Linked DNA regions of Homo sapiens: regions 1 and 2 are each linked to region 3. The links are contacts of gene promoters, found by promoter capture Hi-C in blood cells and fetal thymus (Javierre and others, 2016). All regions are on one chromosome and are shown on one strand. Each heading gives the region's core, a stretch centred on a gene start or on the middle of the fragment in contact. The rest is flanking DNA. Distances are from core to core; before and after follow the strand shown. Region 1 holds the start of UNC45B (unc-45 myosin chaperone B). Region 2 overlaps FNDC8 (fibronectin type III domain containing 8). Region 3 holds the start of LIG3 (DNA ligase 3).

Region 1 (3,782 bases), core at 555-3,054, 170 kb before region 3:
ACATGGCGAAACCTTGTCTCTACTAAAAATACAAAAATTAGCTGGGCGTGGTGGCAGACGCCTATAATCCCGGCTACTTGGAAGGCTGAGACAGGAGAATTGCTTGAATCCGGGAGGCAGAGGTTGCAGTGAGTTGAGATCATGCCATTGCACTCCAGTCTGGGCAACAGAGCAAGACTCCATCTCAAAAAAACAAAACAAAACAAAACCCAAAAAACAAAACAAAACAAACAACAACAACAACAAAAGACAGCCAGGCAGCTTAATCAGAAAACATTTCCCTCTCCCTGCCTGAAATGTGTTCCCTGTAACATTGCCCAGCCCTGGAACCCTTGAGATGAAATCCAATCCTTCTTCCTTGTGACAGCCTTTTAGGAATTTGAAGGCAGCTCTCTGACCCACCTGGGAGTTGCCTTTTCTGGGCTAAATATTGCAGCTTCCCTCAACTGCTCTTCACAGGATATGTTTCCAGTCCCTTCTCCAGCTTGTTCTCTCCCTTCTGAAGTCACTCCATACTCACTGTTTCTTCCCCCAAAATGGTAACTAGATTAAAACCCAGGCCATGCAGAGGAGAATGTGACAGGGCAAGCTTGGAGGTGGGAGGGGCTCACCTCTGGAGGCATCTGAAGCTGCCTGGACGTAGCTCTCCTGAGGAAAGGGGAAGGAGAAGGAGACTCGGTTAATGTGGGCCCAATGCAGAGATGGCCAGAGAGTGTCCCCACAGTGTGGGGAGAGGGTTTCCTGGGGGAGCTGCAGGCTGTCAGAGGCCCAGGGCATGCTCCTCACAGGCATGGCAAAGAGGACAGGCTTTGACATCAGGCAAACCCAGGTTTGAATCTCGGCTCTGCTACTACTTGGGAGAGCTTGGGCAAGTTAATGAATGAAGCCCTCTGGATCCCGAGTTTCTTACCTGCGATAGGGGGAGGACAACAACAGCTATCTCACGGGCCATTAGTAAGATGCCATGAATAACACATGAAAGCACCTGGCATTGGGCTGATTCTGCTCTGGATGAATTTCTGTCTTTCCGGGGCATGGGTCAGGGGGTTGGAGGCACCCTTCTCCAACCCCAGGCATCCAGGAGAGTCGGCTGGGATGAAGGGCAATTTCTATCAGGGTGAAGGGGCTGCCACTCAGCCCCAAAGCCCCTCTGCCTCACTCCCACCCTGTGCCCTGCCCTGCCCCAGACCGTTTTCAGGCCACAGGCTGCCCGGTTCCGATAAAGCGTGGCCAGCAGGGCCTTGTCCTTGGTCAGCTTCAGGGCCTGGCTGTAGCTATTTGTGGCGGCCTTGTAGTCCTGGAGCTGGAAATGCCGGTTTCCTTCCTCCTTCAGCTGTACCGCTTCCACCTCTGCCATCTGCTGGGACAGGAGAAGCTCTGTCTGGTCAGCCCCTCACTGCAGACCCAGGGCTGGGCTCCTGGCCTGAGGTCCGGAGCTCCAGGGTCCCCTCACACCAGAGAGGATGGTGGGGATTCTGCCTGGAAGGGACCCACCCCCAGAACCCCCAAATCTATTGCCCCATGAGGACATTATAGCATTTGCTCAGAGCTTGGCCCAAGTTGAGAGTCCCTGTGCCTCACTCTCTGTCCCTCCCAGCCTGAGCAGGCGAAGCTGCTTAGTTTGTGCCAAAGGCCTGAACTCTCATTGCAGGTCTTAGAAGTTTGCCGTCTCCCTCCCCAGTCCAGGGCACACCCCAGGCCCATGCTCACTTTTTCAGCAAGGACGATGCTTTCGATCTGCCCTCTTGTGATGCTGCTCCCCTGAGCACTCCTGTGTCAACCTCCAGCCAGCCAGCCTCAGTCTGCCCCTCCCAGCCCCCACCCAAGAGATTTTCTTGCCTCAGCCAGTGGCTCTGGACCATATTTGGCCACAGGGGCAGGTGCCCCTGGAGTCTGTCACTGATACTCAGGGCCCTCCCCCTCCCCAGACTGGTCAGTCATGACCACGTGGAGGTGCTGACCAGCCTCCGCCCAAGCACCCCACTCTGGGTTATCCTGGTGGGGGGCTTAGGCACTAACATTCCAAAGAGTGACAGAAAGATCCAGAAGGGACAGGAACCCCCCAGCAGACTCCCTCCCTGGGCACAGCTCTAATGCACCTCTCCACATCTATCCCAGATAAACAGCTTCCTCTCCCTCCCCTCAACCATTGCTATTTTTGGGAGCAGAGTGACAGCTGAGGGGCTGACAGACTGGGACACACAGCAGTTGCCCAGATCCCAGACCAACTGGAGAGTTCCAGAAATACCTTTCTGGAGGGAGCGGGGAAGGAACAGGGGAAGAAAGTTCCTTCCCTTTTCCACTTCTGCGCAACACCTCAACCCACCCTGCTTTCACCTGTTCAAAATGTCTTTGCTTTTCAGAAAGACCAACAGGACTTGCTAACTCAGTTTAGTGTGAGTGAGTGGTTCGTTAGTTTCGGTCCACATGCGGTCTCCTGTTCCTCCCCCTGTGTATAGAGTGGATCTATTCAGCCTACCTCTCCCATCTGACTGTTAGCTCCCAGAGAGTGGGCTTTGTGTATCCCCCATCAGGCTGAGATCTCTTAGGGCAAGGGCTGGGTCAGACTGGGAATTCCCCCGAGACCAAGGGTCCTCCCCACCCGACTGGAAACTATCCTGGGACACACTGAGGCTCCCTCCTCAGAAGGGGGTCTTCCTGGGACAAGAACTATGTATTCACCATTGCAGAGGGGTCTCTCCTGAGGCAGGAATGTTTCTCCTTAGCTAACTGGGAGTTCCTGAAGCAAATTTATGACGTTGTCCCCAGTTGGACCCAGAACTCTTCTGCATTTCAGTGCCCTCAAGCCTGGGCTGTGAGCTTCCTCCTGGAAGGCAAAGACAGCATCCCATATAGCTTGTCCCCCAACCCCCTTCCTGCACAGGTTCTGGCACATTCAGTGTCCGAAGTGTGTTTCCTGAATGGAATGAATGGATGGATGAATGAATGAATGAATGAATGGTGTCTTCATGATGATGATTTCCTCCACTCACCTCTCATCCCTCTCCCCTCCACCCCACACATATCTTCAAACTTATCTGGCCAGAGCTGAGAAAGACACTGAAGAAAATCCCAGGTGGAATCATTCATACTAGATTCTACTCGCAGACCTGTGACCTTGGACACACAGCTATATGACCTTGGACAAGTTGTAGCGCCCTGCTGGACACAAAGCCCAGCCCTAACACATGTTTGTTGAATGAGCAAATAAATGAATGAATAGATGGATGAATTCCCTGCCTTCATGTTATCACAAGCCCTGGGCCCTTTTGTGGGGCAAGCTCTCTGCAGCAATGAGGTAATAGGATAAAGGATCCTGACATTGGCAGAGACCTGCGGTTCTGTGACTTTAGGTCCAAGGGATCTTATATTCAAATGCTGATTCAGTAATTCATTCCACAAGCATTTCTTAAACATCTTTTTGTTGTTGTTGTTGTTGTTGTTTGAGACAGAGTCTTGCTCTGTTGCCCAGGCTGGAGTGCAGTGGCACGATCTCGGCTCACTGCAACCTCCACCTTCTGGGTTCAAGAGATTCTCCTGCCTCAGCCTCATGAGTAGCTGGGATTACAGACATCCACCACCATGCCTGGCTAATTTCTGTATTTTTAGTAGAGATGGAGTTTCACCATGTTGGCCAGGCTGATCTTGAACCCCTGACCTCGTGATCCACCTGCCTAGGCCTCTCAAAGTGCTGGGATTACAGGCGTGAGCCACCGCGCCTGGCCCACATTTCTTAAACATTTATTATGTGTGAGGAACTGTGAAGCATAGAACACTGGTGA
Region 2 (3,376 bases), core at 258-2,757, 150 kb before region 3:
AGAAGTGGGTATTGTTGATACAGAGGAAGTTCTTTGCCACGAGAACTTTCAAGCAGTGAAAGGAATTCCCATCAGGACTCAGACCCCAGGCCGAGATCTTGCCCTGAATGTACCCTGCCTCTGCTTTCTCCTGCATCCCATGCTAAGCAGGGTCATGGTCTGAACTACTCAGATTGGATTTCCAAACCATCCTTGTATAAACTGCTCAGAACTAGCATCTTGCTCCTTCTTACCCTCCTCCACCCTTGTCTGTGCTTTTGGGTTTTGCGCGTCACCTAGCTGTGGTGCTTGGCCTCCACCTTGCACATATCTGCAGTGAGGCTACATAAGAAGCGAACAAAACTATCAGCCACTGAGCTCCTTGGTGCCAGCTGTTTGTCTGCTGTGCTCTCAGACTGCACCAGGCCTGGAAGGTTCTCAAGCTCCAAAACTTTTGATGAGGAAACAACATAAGAAATGATTAGCCCATGCCCTCACATCTAGTAAGAGAAAGCTGGGATTAAACCAGGCCCTGCCCCAAAGCTTATTGTGCACTTTGTACCACATCCCTCCGTCCAGAGCTCAAGCTAGTTTGACAGTTCATGGGCCACCACGTCTGTCCATGACAGCTATTTCTGTATTTTTCTGGTGTAAGAGCCTTTTAGTCTTAGAGCACCAGTCTCCCTGTTCCCCTACCCCGCCCCACTGGGGAAGGGGTGATGGCAGCATCCTATTGCCTAGCTGCCTGTTTTCTATCTCCCCACCCATGTAGACTCTGTCCTGGTGGAAGCTAGGAGGTGGGTGCCAGCCAGCCCATCTGAGGCTGTCTGCAGCATAAAGCAGACTTTAGGGTGCTGGATGACCTGCAGTTCTTTAATGAGGGACCTAGACCCAGCCCAGATTTGGAGGAGGAGGGAGTCTAGCAGCTGTGGGCAGTGGCTGAGCCTGGCATGGCCTGGCCTGAGATGCCTCCAGGTGAATGGGGCCCCTATGTAGCCTTGGCCCCAGCCCAGGGGTGGGGTGCCCATACCACTCTGCCAGACCCCGGGCCCGCAGGGTGCTGGTGGTATGGTAGGTCTCATGGCTCTGGTTTCTGAGGGCCTGGGGTTGAAGCTGAAAGTAGGTGAGGGGTGTCCTGGGGCCCTCCCCCTTAACAGGGAAATAGGTATTCCAGATCCTCCAGCCTCCGCATCTCCTCCGGCCCGATGGACACGATCTTTTGCCGGGGTTCCTTGCGCCGCACGGTGATCTGGATGGGGTAGTTCTCAGGAAAGCTGCTGAAGTCAGTGGCCAGGGTTGCAAACTGAAGTGAAACAAGAAAACCCTTCAGAGTTCCTTCCCAGATCTGAACCTGGCTCTCTCTCTGTCTCTATCACCCCTTTTTTTTCTGTCTGCTGACTCAGACCTTAAACAGCCTTATCCAACCTAGCCATTGACGCAGGAAACAGGTGCAAAGATGCATGACTCAAGCCTGTACCTCCTCATTATGGGATATTTCCAACCAAAGGGCTGTCTGTACTCAGGCCTCTATACCCCCATACCCCTACCCCATACCCAGGCTGTTCCCTTCTTCGTCCCCCTTTAGCCTCTTGTCTTCCCTATTTCTTTCAATGCCCTTGACTTCCCAGCCTACTCACAATCATGGGCACTGAATTGCAGAGTCTAAAAACCAATGGCTTTGGAAGGGGAACATTATAGTGATGTTGAAAAATACATTCGTTTGCATTCCTAGTGGGCCCCAGAGTGGCTTAATCCTTAAACCTCCCAGAAGCATGCATTCTGGAATTGATGCTTCTTGACCCAGGCAGAAGGAAAGCTAGCCAGATGAGTCATGTGGGCATAGGGGTGTTCCCAACCTCCAAAGCCCTGGTTCCCTGGCTTTGGACTTCTCTCCACCCCCAAGGCCCCTCTTTTCCCAGGGCTCACTTTGTAGGGCTTGCACCACTTCCCCACCCCAGCTGTGTTGGCTGCACGGACACTGAGGCAGTAACACGTGTTAGGCTTTAGCTCCATCAGCTTGACAGTAGTGCCCAAAATCTTGTTGAAGATCCATGGACGATTCTTTGCCTCGGGCAACTCATTCTCCTGTGTCTTGGCCACCTCCTGTAACAGGAGCTGGTAGAAACTGACCGGCTGCTTGCCCAAGGCGTAGGTCCAGGAAATCTAGGGGAAGAGAGAGCCCCGAGGCTTCCTCAGATATGTCCTGTCCTTCCTGTCCCTTCACCCTCCCAACTGGGGTCAGGACGTCCCATGCCCATCCCCTGCTCCTGCTGGGGCCCAGGCAGGTCAGATGGAAGGTGCAAGGTACTGCAGCACTGAGTGTGGAACCCCTGCCCCGAAGCATGTACTACTCTCCTGGGCAGCCCCACCCACTTTAGGGTACACCCTCATTCCATATTTCTTATACGCCAGGGGTCCTCAACCCTTGGGCCACCAACTGATAGCAGTCCATGGCCTGTTAGGAACTGGATAGCACAGCAGGAGGAGATTGGTGGGCGAGCAAGCGAAGCTTCATCTGTATTTACAGCTGCTCCCCACGGCTCAGGGTACCACCTGAGCTCTGCCTCCTGTCAGATCAGCAGAGGCATTAGATTCCCATAGGCACGTGAACCCTATTGTGAATTGTATGGGAGGGATCTAAGTTGAATGCTCCTTATGAGAATCTAATGCCTGATGATCTGTCATTGTCTCCCATCACCCCCAAATGGGACCCTCTCGTTGCAGGAAAACAAGCTCAGGGCTCCCACAGTTTCTACATTATGGTGAGTTGTATAATTATTTCATTATATATTACAATGTAATAATAATAGAAATAAAGTACACAATAAATGTAATATGCTTGACTCATCCTGAAACCATCCCCCCAACCGGATCCATGGAAAAATTATCTTCCATGAAACCAGTCCCTGGTGCCAAAAAGGTTGGTTCTAGACTCTGTCTAGACTCTGTTAGCTGAGAGGGACCTTAGAGATCATCTTATCGACTAGGTCCAGAGAGGGCAAGTGACTGGTCCATCATCATACGGCAATTAAGTGACAGCCAGTGTTCAAACCCATAGCTCCAGAGCCCATACACTTTGTACTACAATGGTTGCCAAGCCTGGCTAAGCATCTCAGGGAGATTTTGTAACTGCAGATTTCTGGGCCTGCTGCCTCCTGTCTGGTTTCTCCTCCATCTAGGCCAGTGTTTGTCAAACTTGGTGTGCATTAGAATACCCTGGAGGACTTATTAAAAGATAGATTACTGGGCTCCGCCCCAACAGTTTCTGACTCAGGAGGCCCAAATGTGGTGGAGGGAGATGAGAATTTAAATTTGTAACAATTTGCTGAGTGATGCTGACATTGTCCATCTGGAGAGCACTTTGAGAAACACTGCTCTGGGCCATCCAACAGTGGAA
Region 3 (3,417 bases), core at 464-2,963:
GACAACTAAGCAGAGCCTGGAATCAGACTGCCTGAGTTCAAATCCTAACTCAGCCACTTACCAGCTGTATAACCTTGATGGGTTTCTTACCTCTGTTCCTGAGCTTCCTTATCTGTAAAATGTGGCTAATTATGGGGCCTAACTTAAAGAGCTGTTCTAAGAGTAAAACCCTTAAAACAGTTGGGCACACAGCAAGAGCTCTCATTAACGTCAGCTCCTATTATGATCGGTGACGTCGTTATCTTTCAAGAAGAGGCTTCCGATGTGCAATTAACCTGTTTATCATTCAGCAACTTGAATCAGAGAATGCTGAAGTCACTGGGCAGCAAGACTCACAGGAACTCATAAATCAATCCAAATGGAAAAAGATTATATCAGCATCTTCTTATATTCATGTTTTCTAAAGCATTTTATAGTCCTAGTTTTAAGTATACTGGAATTATGTTCAGTCTGCACACGCTGTGAAGCAAAATTGCTGTCACGTTATAATAAAAAGCAGGCTTTGCTTACTGTAGTGCAACATGATGTGAAGGAAAGCTGGTGGACCTGGAATAAGGGATGGGAGTGCAAGTCTGACTGTACAGTTTACTGACTGTTACCTCGGAGAAAACTCTTAATTTATCTGCATCTGTTTTCTTATTTCTAAAGCAGGGTAAATAATACCTACCTCACAGGGTAGTTGGGAAAATTACAAGGAATCCATGAATGCGCTGGTTGTGGGGGAGGGAGGCTGTTCTGAGCTCTCTAAAAATGTATACAAAATGTACATTCGATAAAAATGCACGGTTTTTTGGAGGAGGTCTATCACTTTCGTGATATTCACAAAGGGCTATATAACTCCCAAAGTTTAAGAACCACAGAGGTGAGGTAAGTGGAAGTACGGCAGACCCATAAAAGGAGGTCAGAACAAGTGAGTTTCAACACTTTTCCTAGAAGATCAATTTACAGAGCAACCTCTAGGGCCCCAATAATGAAAGGAGTGGACTTGAGGGAGGCTCGGGAGGCGCTGGGCCACGAGGAGGCACAATGCAGCTTTGAGGAAACCCGTCTGTCCCTCGTTCCGCACCCTCACAACTGCCGCAGCCCAGGGGCCCGAGAAGGAAATCGCTGAGGCCTGGCCGCCGCCGCTTTTCTCGAAGGGCTTCCCGCGCCGCTGTCGGAGAGTGGCGGGGACAGTGGGGTCGGCGGCGTAGGCCGCGACCCCCGGCGAGGCAGAAAGGAGCGCTCCTCCACCGGGTCCGGGACGCAGGCGGGAAGTGATCAAGGCTCCCTGAGTCCCACCCGAGCGCTCCCGGTTCAGCGCAGGAGGACGCACGCCGGGCCAGGGTACGAGAAGGCCCCGTGGGTTCCACAGGGAACACAGCCCGGGCGCCGGCCTCCCCGCCTCACGCGGCCCCGTGGGGGTCCCGGGGAGCCGCGAGCCTCCCCCTGGGCTCCCGGGAGGGCCGCCACGTCACGGAGGGTGTGCCCCGGGGCTCCGCAGGCGGGCGGGGGAGGAGCCGGGGGGCTGGCTCCCCGGCCGCGCCGAGCTCCTCGCCCCGGGCCCGCTGCCTTCCCCACGCCGGGCCCCGCCGCGCCGTGCCGCGCCGCGTAGCCCCTCACCTGCCTCTCCGGCTCCGGCGCTCACCGTAGGCCTCGGAACTTGCTCATTACAGGCCGCGGGCAGCCCACGACGGTTGGAGCGCCTGTCTCTTTAAATCCGGGTCCTAGAGCGGGAGGCAGCGCGCAGGCGCAAGAGCCAAGGCCGCGGCCACGCGACCGGTCCCCGCCCCCGTCTGCCACGTGGGTCGTAGTTGCATTCTGCCTGCCCTGTGATGTTTGGGAGTAGTTTTCAACCTGCAATCGCGGCCCGGGAAGCGGAGGTGGGGGGACGTGGCGGCTCCTCGGAACGCAGCCTGGCCTGAACTTCCGAGGCTCCCCTTGATTTTCTCATACTGTTAGAGAGGATCTGTTTTTAAAGATATTGGTGGAGAAACTATATTGTAATGAGGTCGGGGAAGGCAAAGATCGCGTCAATCTATTTTTTAAATATAATCCCTCTGTTTGTGTCCCGCAGACTCCCTAGTAAATAGTTTGTATTCAGTAGCTTTCATGGAATTGAGACGAGGCACTAAACAGCAGATAGATATAAAATGTAAAGGAGTGATGGAGGAGAAACTCCTTGATTGTATATCATTCAAAGTGTATTATCTCAAATCTGAAGCCAGCTCTTTGAGAGTTGGGATGGCGATTTTTACAAATGTAGCAGCCTGAGGGTAAGTGACCTCTTCAGAGTCTAGGAAGAGCAAACAACTGGGCCTTGTTAGGTAAGCAAAGAACAGGTTCCCGAGAGAATTCTGTGCTGTGTGATGAAGAGTGTCGTCTTTACTCTGTAGAGGACGGAGAGCCATGAAGAGTCTTAGGGAATACTGCTGAAGCTGGGTGGGGAGAGACTGAGGCAAGGGAACAAATCAGAAGGCTCTCATAGTGACCCATGTGGGAGATGATTCAGCTAGTTAGGGTGGAGAGTAAAGTGCGTTTTTGAAGATCATTTAGAATTTAAATGATCTTCTAGATAAAGTGCTCGTTTATGGATAAAATAATAATAATTTGAGTGAGCAGAAACATAATGGTACCATCAACTGAAATAGAAAATAGAGAGGAAGAGGAGGTGTTAGGGTTAGAAAGATGAGTTTTGTATTGGATACATTAAGTTTGTTTGACTAAGTTTAACTGCGATTCTACTGTTTGGAGGGGAGTAAAGCCTGCTTTTAATGCGCAGCAGAATGAACCAGGGCTTTGGTTCAACCAGGCAATTGGAAGGTCGCTGGAGACTCACGTCCTAGCTATGATAATTGAGTGATCTTGAGCACGTCTCTACAACTACATTTGCTACATTTTTTTAAGTTTCCTCAACCGTATCTGTCTTTTTCCAATGCTGTAATCACTAGCCACACGTGACTATTGAGCACTTGAATGTTGCATGGAATTGAGATGTGCTATAAGTGAAGAAAATACACACCAAAAAATTCATACTAAAAAAAGTAAAATATCTCATTAATAATATGTACCACATAATGACATTTAGGCCAACAATGGACCAAATATATGAGGGTGGTCCCATAAGATTATAATGGAGCTGAAAAATCCCTATCATATAGTGACAGCACATTACTCATGTGTTTGTGGAGATGCTGGTGGAAACGAACCTACTCCATTGCCAGTTGTATAAAAGCATAGCACACACTATTATGTACAGTATATAAAACTTTATAATGATAATAAAGGACGATGTTGCTGGTTTATATATTTAGTATACTATACCTTTTATTGTCATTAAATTAAATTAATTAATTTAGTTATTTTTGAGACAGAGTCTCGCTGTGTCGCCCAGGCTGGAGTGCAGTGCCACGATCTTGGCTCACTGCAACCTCTGCC

What was found. Contacts are between HindIII fragments. The CHiCAGO score rates a contact against its expected background, and 5 or more counts as called.
Region 1: a contact is called between the fragment with the promoter of UNC45B here and the fragment with the promoter of LIG3 in region 3, in 1 of 17 cell types (activated CD4 T cells). The highest score is 5.3, in activated CD4 T cells.
Region 2: a contact is called between a fragment that was not itself captured here and the fragment with the promoter of LIG3 in region 3, in 16 of 17 cell types (megakaryocytes, activated CD4 T cells, erythroblasts and 13 more). The highest score is 11.9, in megakaryocytes.

What each region holds. Positions count from the first base shown.
Region 1 is chr17:35,145,839-35,149,620 of GRCh38, reverse strand. It overlaps UNC45B (unc-45 myosin chaperone B), which reads right to left and starts at 1,804. Exons shown (of 20, transcript NM_001267052.2): 1 at 1,711-1,804; 2 at 1,190-1,357; 3 at 612-648. The coding sequence starts at 1,357. The HindIII fragment of the contact is 5,031 bases long and covers 592-3,782 here.
Region 2 is chr17:35,128,188-35,131,563 of GRCh38, reverse strand. FNDC8 (fibronectin type III domain containing 8) reads right to left here. Exons shown (of 4, transcript NM_017559.4): 3 at 1,906-2,142; 4 at 832-1,282. The coding sequence ends at 1,130. It overlaps NLE1 (notchless homolog 1), which reads left to right. Exons shown (of 13, transcript NM_018096.5): 13 at 1-2,834. Among named protein-coding and RNA genes, the nearest start is that of FNDC8, 8.3 kb to the right of the region's middle. The HindIII fragment of the contact is 1,966 bases long and covers 525-2,490 here.
Region 3 is chr17:34,978,808-34,982,224 of GRCh38, reverse strand. It overlaps LIG3 (DNA ligase 3), which reads right to left and starts at 1,713. Exons shown (of 20, transcript NM_013975.4): 1 at 1,603-1,713. RefSeq lists a silencer at 1,259-1,688. The HindIII fragment of the contact is 8,847 bases long and covers 1-3,417 here.